Linked DNA regions of Homo sapiens: regions 1, 2 and 3 are each linked to region 4. The links are contacts of gene promoters, found by promoter capture Hi-C in human tissues and cell types (Jung and others, 2019). All regions are on one chromosome and are shown on one strand. The core of a region is centred on a gene start or on the middle of the fragment in contact, and the rest is flanking DNA. Distances in the headings are between cores, read along the strand shown. Region 1 holds the start of LOC107984716 (a long non-coding RNA gene). Region 2 overlaps THSD4 (thrombospondin type 1 domain containing 4). Region 3 holds the start of LARP6 (La ribonucleoprotein 6, translational regulator). Region 4 holds the start of CT62 (cancer/testis associated 62).

Region 1 (2,818 bases), core at 177-2,676, 410 kb after region 4:
TATGTTTCACCCAGTGTGCCAACTCTGCTGCATTGGATGGCTGACTCTCATGCTGCCTTGAGAAGGATGCTAAGCTGCAGGAGGCTGCGCAGGAAAGAGTGCTGTAAATGACTTGTAATGTCTGCCATGAGCACAGGAGGAAGATGGAGATGAGCTAAGAGCCCTTCTTGGTTTATGCCTCTTTTTTTTTTTTTTTTTTTTTTTTTTTTGAGACGAGTCTCTATCTGTCACCCAGGCTGGAGTGCAGTGGTGCAGTCTCAGCTCACTGCAAACTCCGCCTCCTGGGTTCATGCCATTCTCCTACCTCAGCCTCCCAGGTAGCTGGGACTACAGGTGCCCACCACCACGCCCGGCTAATTTTTTTTTTTTTTTTTTTTTGTATTTTTTAGTAGAGACGGGGTTTCACCGTATTAGCCAGGATGATCTCGATCTCCTGACCTTGTGATCCGCCTGCCTCGGCCTCCCAAAGTGCTGGGATTACAAGCGTGAGCCACCATGCCCGGCCTCTTGCTTTATACTTCAAAGAACTTCCTTGCCCATGCTCCCTCCCTCCCTTGTCCATGCCTCAAAAGGGGCCAACCAAGATCAGCAGTTATGCATCTTGGATGCAGTCTTCCTGGACTCTTCAATCTTGAGCTCTCACCTAGAAGGAAAATGGTGGTATCAATGAGAGAAATGTAGCCATCAATTTCACAATGAATAATAAAAATAGCTAATATTTACTGAGCACTTATTATGCATCAGGCTCCCTGCTAAGTGTTCTACATGTAATGTCTCATTTAATTCTCATGGCAGCCTCAAGGGATAGGTACCATCAATCATCTAATTGTACAGATGAGGAACATGAGGCACATAGAGATTAAATTACTAGCCCAGGAACACACAGCTAATATGTGCTACAACCAGGATTTAACTTTAAGCATCCTAATGTTAAAACCGACACTCATAACCACTGAACTGCAGATTTAATTATAGACATGTTGGATTTGAAACATTGGTAAGACTTGCAAGTGGAAATATGCAGGAGGCAGAGGAAGATACAGAACTGGACAAGGTCAGGCATGGGCACAGAGCCAGGGAGTGGGGGTGGTTGAAAGGTGCCCACAGATGCGTTTATTCAAACTATGAGTTGAGAGTCAGTTATACAGATGTACAATGTACAGAGAAATCTGCGCAAATGTTTTATGTATTAGGGAGATGTTTTCCCAAGTAATGAGTTAGAAATAACTGACTTTTGTTATGGTCCATGGACAGAACATTCCAACTGTGAGGAAACAGGACGCAGATGAAGAAGTCTGTGTCCTAAATCATGCTGAAAAGTCAGAATCTGTTGGGATTTTTGGAGATACATTCTTTGCATCTCATCTCATCTCAATGGTCTCACAAGTGCAATAGAAAATCATGGTCCTTGGTGAGAGCTGGTGAGAGCTTTGCCTTAGCATCCCCAGCTACAGACTCACCACCTTTCCCATTCCCTGTAGAACCTGAACCCCTCAAGGACAGGGAATGGGTCTCATTCATCCAGGAGCTTCTAACACCCGACACACGCAGACACTCAGTAAACAGTAAGTGAATTAGTAGAACCAAGGAAATAAGAACCGACCCTATTCGGTTACATCTGCTCCTGGATATATTATCAAATTTAGAGTGTTTTCACTGACCCATCACTATTTCATTGTAAATGGCTGAATTTTCCCCCTGTAGGCTGGGGACAATGCCACAATAAATTACTGCCTACTTGAACCGAGTTTCATTTTGTTCTGATTGATTGCCGGTTTCAAGGACCGTCTAAAATCTCAGTTTATGGACTTTACTTCCTGGTGGTTCCCAGAGAGAAATGAGCCTGGATTCCAGAGAATGCAAATTTCTTCAAACTTGCAGCCGGCTTCCAGACTCCCTGCAAAGGTCTCTTAAGCCTCTAAATATTTCCTCTCTTAAATCACACATCACTGGCACAGGCAGAATATTTTCCAGTTACTTCTTTCTTGTTAGGAGAGAGTCGCTTAGAGGTCTACCAAGTAGACAGAAATGCAGTCGTTTTGGCAGTTTTATTGTGCTGTCTTTAGGTTTCGTTTAGTGATTCTTTTTTTAAGTTGTGTTTGGTTTTTTATTCCTGAAAGAAACTATTTCAGGAATAGTTGCACTGGAATATTCCAGGAATAGTCGCTGCATTAGAAACACGATGTTGACTCTCTCTTGGCATGTTTATGGGTGGGATGAACTGCATATGTGAAATGAAGCTTAATCTCTCACTTGTGCAAATGTCGAGACTTTGATTTGACACTTTTCCAATTAGGTGATGTGAATCCCTAGGGCTAGTGTGGTAGCTTATTGTGTAGCAATGGCACACAGGTATTCTGCCAAATTTTGATGTGTATCTAAAATTTGTATTTGATTCAACCTAGAATAGATTCTCTTATAGTGTCTGTTGGACAGTATGCTGAACTGAGCAAGTTATGGAGTGTGGCACAGAATGAGGCACAATTTATGGTGCCATAGCTAAGAGGCACAGTGTCATGTCAAGTTAGTATGTATGAAAAATGACCATTGCCTTGGTCTGAATCTTCCCCAAAATTCATGTTGAAACTTAATCACCATTGCAGTCGTATTAAGACGTGGGTCCTTTAGGAGGTGATTAGGTCATGAAGACTCCTCCCTCATAAATGGGATTAATGCCTTATAAAATAGCCTTCACCCGGGGTTCAGCCTTTTTTGCCCTTCTGCCTTTCACCATGTAAGGACACAGCAACAAGGCGCCACCTTGAAAGTAGAGACGGGGCCCTCACCAGACACCAAAGCTGCTGGAGCCTTGATCTTG
Region 2 (2,890 bases), core at 240-2,739, 460 kb after region 4:
AATACTTGCTGATTGACTAATCCACTGATCTGTGTGTTCTGGGGGAGTTAGAAAAGCTTTCCTAGAGGAGATGCAAAGAGATGGCCAGAAGACAGGCTGTTTGCCACTCTAATCCTTGGCTTCTCACATGTTAAACATGATGGCTAAGGTCTCTAACTTTCTGGGGCTTGACAGTTGTAAAATACGAGGAGGATAGGAGACTGTGAGGGGGTGAAAGCCAGTTTTCAGATTCACAGAGGCTGGAAATAAATTTGGTATATGGGGAAGCTTTGGAGATGGAGAAATGCTTTCGAAACTGTGAAGTACATACTATGAAATTATGTCTCTTTGGTTTACAACCATTTGGCGTTACTAAAACTTTCACTTGATGCCCTAATTCAGCTCTAAGGGGTCTGTCTTGGCATTTATGAAAGCCATTGTGGACTGGTGCAACCTTTATTTATTTATTTTATTTTATTTTATTTTATTTTTGAGACGGAGTCTTGCCCTGTTGCCCAGGCTGGAGTGCAGTGGCATGATCTCGGCTCACTGCAACCTCCACCTCCTGAGTTCACGTTATTCTTCTGCCTCAGCCTCCCGAGTAGCTGGGATTACTGGCGCCCACCATGCCTGGCTAATTTTTCGTGTGCGGTTTTAGTAGAGGTGGGATTTCACCATGTTGGCCAGGCTGGGCTCAAACTCCTGTCCTCAGATGATCCGATGGAGGGAGGCTGCTACTCTCTACCATTTCCTGTGTGCCTCCACTGTGGCCTCAACCCTGGCAGTTAAAGCCACTGCTCCCTTCCCCTACCTGGCATGTGTGAGCCCTTCTCACTGGATTTTATACCCTTGTGTCTGTGTACATTATCGATCTATATAGTATATATATACATTATATCTATCTATATAGTATATATATTCATTATATATATAATGAATATATATACACACAATTGATAAATTGAATATATATATAAACTCTGCACTGGTGCATCTTGTAAGCGGCAGTGTAGACTCCAGGTGGTTATCTTGGCAGTGGGGTAGCTAGCACCAACATCTGGCTGAGTGCCCTTCTTAACAGGTGACTCGAGGTTTGCTAATTTATAGCAAGGATGATGCTCATTATGATGTCAACCTGTTTGATAAGTGTCATGTCATTTGGATTCTGCCATTGATTTCTTTTGACTTTATTTTTTTAATGGTTAAATTATATAAACTTTGTATAATGTAATCCATAAACATGCTTTGTGACTTTGTGACTTTCTTTTTTGGTGGTGACAGGATTTCGCCATGTTGCCCAGGCTGGTCTCAAACTCCTGAGCTCAGGCAATCCACCTGCCTCAGCCTCCCAAAGTGCTAGGATTATAGGCGTAAGCCACCACGCCCAGCCTATAGTATACTCTTAAGTGTACTCTTCTTAAGTGGCCTACGACGAGCAGGTAAACAGCCATTCGATAGACTAAATAATAAATAGAAAATACTTGTTTAGGTTATATTGTGATAATATATGATAGTAAATAATGAACACTGTTTTAATGATATTTGGTGTTATCTTTGCATACATTAATTTGACTTGGGGGACTCTGGACTGCATTAACTTTTTTTTTTTTTTTTTGAGACGGAGTCTTGCTGTGTCGCCCAGGCTGGAGTGTAGTGGCACAATCTCGGCTCACTGCAAGCTCTGCCTCCCGGGTTCAAGTGATTCTCCTGCCTCAGCCTCCCGAGTAGCTGGGACTACAGGCACCAGCTATCACACCCGGCTAATTTTTTGTATTTTTAGTAGAGATGGGGTTTCTACGTGTTAGCCAGGATAGTCTCGATCTCCTGACCTCGTGATCCACCCACCTCAGCCTCCCAAAGTGCTGGGATTACAGGCGTGAGTGCATTAACTTTTTAATCAAACTAGCAGTAATTATGTTTTCAGTTTAAGATAAGTTGCCTTTATAAATTTGGGGATAAATTGGATTTAGGTAAGGCAGTGTTATTACTTTACTTCTTTTGTATTCTCCATAACAGCTGGCTCTTCATGGTTGTACAGTAGCTATTGTTAACTTGCTTGAGGCCAGCTGTGTGTGAGCATTACCGAGAGCCAGAATGTCCTCCTGAGAAGGGGCTCCTCACGCCTGTTCTCATGATCATCTGCGTAGCAGAAGCCTATGGAGTTCCGATGAGAAAGGGAACTGGAAATCCCTTTGAGTAAACAAGTCCCCAGAAGAGGGAGAGCATAGGTGTGAAAAATAATAATTCTACCATCTAAATTCCATTTCTCAGCCTTAGTTAACACAGGTCAGAAGATCTGTCATTTGATTAAAGTCACTTCCCTGGGACTGAGAAAAGATTGCTACTGTACTCTTGAAGGGTGATTCTACTCCACTCTGTAGTAAATGCCTCCACATGGTAGATCCCCTCAAATTGGGTCATGTATCTCTCCTCTGCCCTCAACCCTTGGGTTTTATTTCCCATTTATAGCTTTCAAAATATTGGAGACACCATGGTTTGGAAGGTAAAACAATAGCAATGAGAGACACCTGTTTATAAGTAGAGCAATTAAAAACCTAGCTGGTGACCAAACCTGCCCAACTCTATGTATATTAGTTTTCTATCACTATATAACAAATTACCACAAATTTAGTGGCTTAAAACACATAAACGGTGGGGTTTTTTTTTTGAGGAGGGTGATGCTCAGCATCGAATGACGAATTTGTCATTCACCTAGCATTTATTAAGCAACCACAGGATGCAAATTACACTGTGACTAATTGGAGATATTAAAAAATCACATAATAATATCCTGCTCTTAAGAAATTTGTGCTTTCCCAAGAGAGAGTTTTCAAAAAAGAATACATGTAATTTGTACACAGCAGGCAGTAAGAAGTATAGATGTCATGCTAGGATAGTTCCAAGGAGAGGA
Region 3 (2,700 bases), core at 81-2,580, 260 kb before region 4:
GAAGGGTGAGCCAGTAATAGAGAATGGCTCTGGGCCCAGTATTCTTCCACCCTTGAGTTGAGTATTCTCCCAGTGAAGTAGATATACGCTTGCCAGGACAATCCTGCAGAACCTTAACAGCTAAACGCCTGGGACAGGGTCCTAGAAGAAAGAGAGCTCCTAATAAGTGCCTGTTGGCATCCACCAGAATGTGCAAGTTCTGTCATTTCCCCACTCTCATGTCTATGTCTATGTTTTATCTCCTTTCAACAGCAGGAACAAAACACCAGTCCTTAAGGGCCTGGGCATTAGTGGACAGGAGCCAAGGTGCCTGAGGACAAAGCTCGGGACCCGGGACAAGGTTAAACAAGTGCCATAGCAGCTCCAAACTACCCAAAACCCAGGAACACCCCCCCCCCGCCCCCCGCAAGGCAGCAAGATGATGCAAACATAAAGGTCTGGTGGGAAAGGCTGTGTGAAAATGGGAATCCCCCAGGGCGGAGGAAGTAAAGCAGCAAGTCCTCTATCCGTCTCAAATTACCTTGAAATCCCACCTCCTGGAATCCCCCATCAGCAAGTGTCCGCTGTACCTGGCCTGCTACCACCTAAAGACTGAGCGCAGCCAGCAGGACTGGGAAAGGCAGGGCGATGATGGCAGTGAAGGGTAAGCGGGACCACTCGCAAGGGGAGGGGAAGGCGGGTAGGGATGGACTTTGCGGCGATGGGGAGGTGGTGTCTTGAGGGAGCCCACAGAGAAGAGGCCTCCTCCAGAGGAGGGGGTGGCTTGGATGGCCCGTGAAAGTCCTCCTCCTGGATCCCTGAACATCCCCACGTCCAGGCCCCTCAGATCCCGGCCGCCAGCCCTGGGAGCCTCGGTTGGGCGACGAAGCTGCGGGCTGGGGCACCGGCTGCCTCCACGGGCCGGTTCTGACTCAGGGGCTCGGCCCGGAGCTGCTTCCCCGGCGGCGGGGCTGACTCAACCCCCTCTGCCCGAGGAGTTGTCGCGCGCAGTCAGCGCCCCGAACTCGCGCGCGGCCCGGCGCCCCCTCGGGGCCCACCTCCCGGGCCAGCCGCCGCGCCTACCTGTGCCCGCGGCTCGGCTCCTCCTCGCTCGCGCTGCCCCAGCCGGGGCTGAGGTACCGGGCCGGGTCCCCGGCGCCCCGAGTCTCCGCCCCCTCCTCCTCGTCCTCCAACTCGTCCACGTCCTCGGCCTCCTGGATGGCGACGCGGATCTGCACCGCCGTCTTGGGCCCGGGCCGAGCCTCCCCGCCGGACTGGGCCATGGCTCGCGGGACTGCGGCGCCGCCGGGGTCCTCACGCCGCAAGGCCCAGCCAGCCGGTCGGCAGCGACTGCGACGAGGGGGCGGGGGCGGTGCGAGCGCGCCTGCCGCTCGGCCCAGGGGAGGGACAGGGGTCGCGGCGCCCCGCCCCGCGCCGCCGCCGCCGCCGCCGCCGCCGCCACCACCCCGACCGCTAGTGGAGCGCCCGCGCAGGCGGGGCCTCGGAGGTGGAGGGCGGCTTTCCGGAGCTCCTCCGACGGAGGCCCGTCCCGGAAGGATCCCCGCGACCCCCGATCACTCCCTCCGTCTTTTCGCCGCTGTGGGGCCCCAGCCCGAGAGGAGGTGTCAGGGCTCCCTCCTCCTGCGCCTTCTTTCACGGCGCCGCAGGGATGGGCGCAGCACAGCTGACTTCTGTTTGTGCTTGACTCCGGGGGTGGCAGCCAGAGACCACAGCTCCAGGGGCTTCCAGGCCTCCTGCGTGTCTCCCCCACTGGCCTGCCAAGATCAGAAAATTTCCATCGTTAGTCTCCTTGACATAATAACCACCCTAGACCGCGTCTTAGGAGGTCAGGGGCTTGGCTCCTGCCTTGCCCTGTATCAGTTTTTCTCCAAGTGTGGTTCCCAGACCAGGAGCATCAGCTGCACCGGGGAACTTGTTAGAAATTGAATTCTCAGGGCTCATCCAGACCTCCTGAATCAGAATCTATGATTCAGAACTTTGTGTTTTAACAAGGCCTCTAGGTGATGCTGAAGTTCACAAAAGTTCGAAAGCCGATGGCCTATAGAGTATGCCCTGCACATAGTATGCACTCAGATGTTTGTTGAATGAATAAAGGGAGCTATTGAAATGTCAGGATGTTCTAAAACACTGCCACCTTTTCACGTGTAACTTCAAATTGAGTTCCATCTCACCTCTCCAAATGTGACCCAGAAACTAGGGACAGGAGCATAGAAATGAATAAGACCGGCCGGGCGCAGTGGCTCAAGCCTGTAATCTCAGCACTTTGGGAGGCCCAGGCGGGCGGATCACGAGGTCAAGAGATCGAGACCATCCTGGCCAACATGGTGAAACCCTGTCTTTACTAAAAAAAATACAAAAATTAGCTGGACGTGGTGGCACGTGCCTGTAATCCCAGCTACTCGGGAGGCTGAGGCAGGAGAATCACTTGAACCTGGGAAGCAGAGGTTGTGGTGAGCCGAGATTGTGCCACTGCACTCCAGCCTGGGCAACAGAGCGAGACTCCGTCTCAAAAAAAAAAAAAAGAAAAAGAAAAAAAAAGAAAGAAGGAAAGAAGAAAAAGAAATGAATAAGACCTGAATCTGCTTTCATGTAGCACTTTATTTAGAGCCTTAAACATAATTTATCATATTAATTTGCCACACTGGGACCCCAAAACAACAGAACCCTGGACCAATACATTTGTTTTGATATAGAAAGACA
Region 4 (2,720 bases), core at 136-2,635:
CAATCAGAACTGGCTCTGCCAGGCTCCGGGCCAGTAGTCGGTGCTCAAAATGGTGTTTCTTTCTTTGGCCTAATCTCTTGAGTAGCCTCTTTCCCTTTTGTTAATTTTTTTTTTTTTCTGGAGGACAATCTTCCCTGGGAGCTCCCTTCTGCTCCCACGAAGCGCTCTGCACCCAGCCCTGGTGCTGCCTGGCTCTGGGGCAGGGAGCTTGCATTCTGCCACCTCCTTCATTGTCCTCTCGGTATACCTGCACTTTCAAAACAACCCCTGCAGGCAAGCTTTAGAGGCAGCGATAAACAAACAGGCTGACTGAAATTTAGGGAAACGCCTGTATCTGGACAGCCTCTTCAAATATTTGTCACCCCCTCCCTGCTCTGGGGAAAGAAGAGACAGTTCCTCACAGTCACTCTATTTCCTGCCTTCCCAGCTCTGAACACCTTGGCTCGAATGTAAAGAATTTGGCTCTGAATTAGGACTCAAGAAACGGGGCCCTAGCAATTTTCCCTCCATTAACTAAACGCGTCACTTTGGTCATGCCCTTTTGGGGGCAATAATTTCCCAATTCGTAAAATGAAGGGATCAAAGTTTGATTTTTATCATTACTAATGAGAAGAATTATTATTTTTTTGCAGCAGGCTTTTTTTTCCCCAACAAAATATTACTCTGAATAAGACAAGAAAGAATCCCGAACGGCTCTGGCCGTCAGGGTGTGTGTGTCTCCTCCCCATGCTGTCTAACCCCCGTTGGAATTTGGAGGGCTCTTGTCCTTTCCCCTTGGCCTCAGAAGGAGCCCAGCGCGTCCTACCTTGCGTGGGAGTGTGTGTGTGACCAGGGCTCCTTCCTGCCCTTAGAGTCACCGCCCCCTTCTCGCACAGGTTTACAGCACCACTTGCCTCGCCCACTCCCCGCTTTGCCTCCGCCCCATCCTGATGCTGCCGGAATGGCTGTTCCAAATGGAAGGATGCCCGCGTCCGTCCCCTGCCCCAGTCCTTCAACAGGTCCCCACAGACCTCAGGATAAGATGAACGCGGAATTCAGGGCCTGGTCTCAACCGCCCTCTCCCTTTTCCTCTCACTTAGACGACCCTGGCCAGCTGGGCCACTCTCCACTCTCGCCCCCTCCCGCCCTCGTGGCCTCTGTCTAGACCGTACTCCCTCCTACTGGGTGATGTCTCTTCCCCTGGGACCCAGGGACCATCCCGTTGTTGACCTCCGGGGTCAGGGGTGCGGATGGGGGCCGGCCCTTCCCGCGGTCGCCGCCAGGGGGCGGCAGGAGCGGCTCCAGATGACAGCGGGAGGCCGCAAGAGGGGAGGGAGGAAGGACCGAGGGAGCGCGGATCCCGCTCTCGGATCGCAAACTCTGAGCCAGAGCTCTCCGCGCGCGCCTGAACCGCTGGCCGCCCGCGCAGCCCGACGCGGAATCGGGGCACAGCGGGAGCCCGTGCAGGGCGGGCGCGGGGCGGCTGGGCGGCGGTGGCGGCCGTCCATGCGGCGGCGCTCGGGGCTGCCCGGCGCCGGGAACCACGCGGGGGCGAGGCGAGGCGAGGCGGCCGCCGGTCGCTCCGGGACGCGGACCGCCAGGTGAGCAGAGCCGCGCGCCCCGCGTCCCCTGCGCGCCGCCCGCGCGGCCCCGACCCGGCTTCCGCTGCCCAGGCTCCGGCTCCCGCTCTCTGGCCGGCGGGGCGGGCTGGCGCGGGCTACCCAGTGGGTGTGTCCGGGGCGCCGCGGGCTGCGCCGCTCCGGGCTCGGGGAGCCAGCGCGCGCCTGGTCCGTGCGGACGGCTGCGCCTCCTTCTCTGGTTCTCTTCCTTGCTGGGAGTCTTGCTCTGTGCTGGCGCCGGCGCTCATCCCTCCACCCTCGACTCTAGGGACAGTCTTAAACTCTAGGGACAATCCACCTCAGTCGTCCCCGGGTCGGGGCCCCGTGCTCCCCGGGTCGGGTCGGAGGGGACCGGCGAGTGCACACCCAGCCCGTGCGCCCCCCACCTCAGCCTCGCCTCCCTCCCGCCTGGGGCCCGAGAGCCGGGCAAGTCTCGGTCAGCGCTCCTTGAGTCCTGGCCTGGGGCCTCGGATCTGTGTGTCTGTCTGTCTCAGTTTAGTTGCTGCAACCCAGCGAGCGCCTGGAGCCCGAGTGGATGGGTTGTTTCCGCCAACTCTGGACACTTCCTCAAGTGCAGCCTAAGTACCTGCGGCCCCTTGGCGCACTTACAGAAGTAGCTTTTGCACAGCGAGCTCACCTTGGAGCTCTACAGATCTGGAAGTTAAGTTTTCTTTTTATTTGAAATAACATCAGCCCTCACTTGGGAAGGGGATTTTAGGGCGTTCTCGGGCCCACCTAAGTATCTGGAATTTGTGGTCTAGTAAGTTTTTTAAGCAGTCCGCACCCAGCACCGTACCTCCCAGCCTCCTTTGCCGTCTTACTAAAAGTGCATGCTTGCTTCTCTTCCTGTCTCCTTTGCGATCTCTACCACGCTGCGCTTCGCCCTTTTCGGGCTATGAGTCTAAAGCTTGGACGTGGGTAGCAATCATTGGATGCCTGTTGGAATTTGGAATTAGAGAAATAGATACCCGAGAGAGATCTAAGGAATCGCCTTGTCCAACCCTCCTTTCACAGTTGGAGGCACCCAGGACCCCTGACAGTCTGAAGATTTTTCAAGGATCACACAGCTTTTAAAATCCGCGTGTCTTCTACTTGATTAATATTGTTGGAGGTGATGGAGTA

The links. Contacts are between HindIII fragments. The study calls those that stand out against the background at their distance.
Region 1: a contact is called between a fragment that was not itself captured here and the fragment with the promoter of CT62 in region 4, in 4 of the 25 tissues and cell types used here (H1 embryonic stem cells, aorta, lymphoblastoid cells and 1 more).
Region 2: a contact is called between a fragment that was not itself captured here and the fragment with the promoter of CT62 in region 4, in 3 of the 25 tissues and cell types used here (IMR-90 fibroblasts, adrenal gland and heart left ventricle).
Region 3: a contact is called between the fragment with the promoter of LARP6 here and the fragment with the promoter of CT62 in region 4, in 2 of the 25 tissues and cell types used here (heart right ventricle and liver).

What each region holds. Positions count from the first base shown.
Region 1 is chr15:71,524,407-71,527,224 of GRCh38, forward strand. The region is part of intron 7 of THSD4 (thrombospondin type 1 domain containing 4); the gene reads left to right. LOC107984716 (a long non-coding RNA gene) reads right to left here and starts at 192. Exons shown (of 3, transcript XR_001751787.2): 1 at 1-192. The HindIII fragment of the contact is 4,601 bases long and covers 1-2,818 here.
Region 2 is chr15:71,577,268-71,580,157 of GRCh38, forward strand. The region is part of intron 7 of THSD4 (thrombospondin type 1 domain containing 4); the gene reads left to right. Among named protein-coding and RNA genes, the nearest start is that of THSD4-AS2, 110 kb to the right of the region's middle. The HindIII fragment of the contact is 5,390 bases long and covers 1-2,890 here.
Region 3 is chr15:70,852,827-70,855,526 of GRCh38, forward strand. LARP6 (La ribonucleoprotein 6, translational regulator) reads right to left here and starts at 1,331. Exons shown (of 3, transcript NM_018357.4): 1 at 1,063-1,331. The coding sequence starts at 1,262. It also overlaps a transcript of LRRC49 not described here. RefSeq lists an enhancer at 720-1,221. The HindIII fragment of the contact is 12,354 bases long and covers 1-2,700 here.
Region 4 is chr15:71,114,119-71,116,838 of GRCh38, forward strand. CT62 (cancer/testis associated 62) reads right to left here and starts at 1,386. Exons shown (of 4, transcript NR_168260.1): 1 at 806-1,386. THSD4 (thrombospondin type 1 domain containing 4) reads left to right here and starts at 1,353. Exons shown (of 18, transcript NM_024817.3): 1 at 1,353-1,580. RefSeq lists silencers at 1,167-1,216, 1,253-1,430, 1,277-1,336, 1,367-1,506, 1,657-1,746. The HindIII fragment of the contact is 8,632 bases long and covers 1-2,720 here.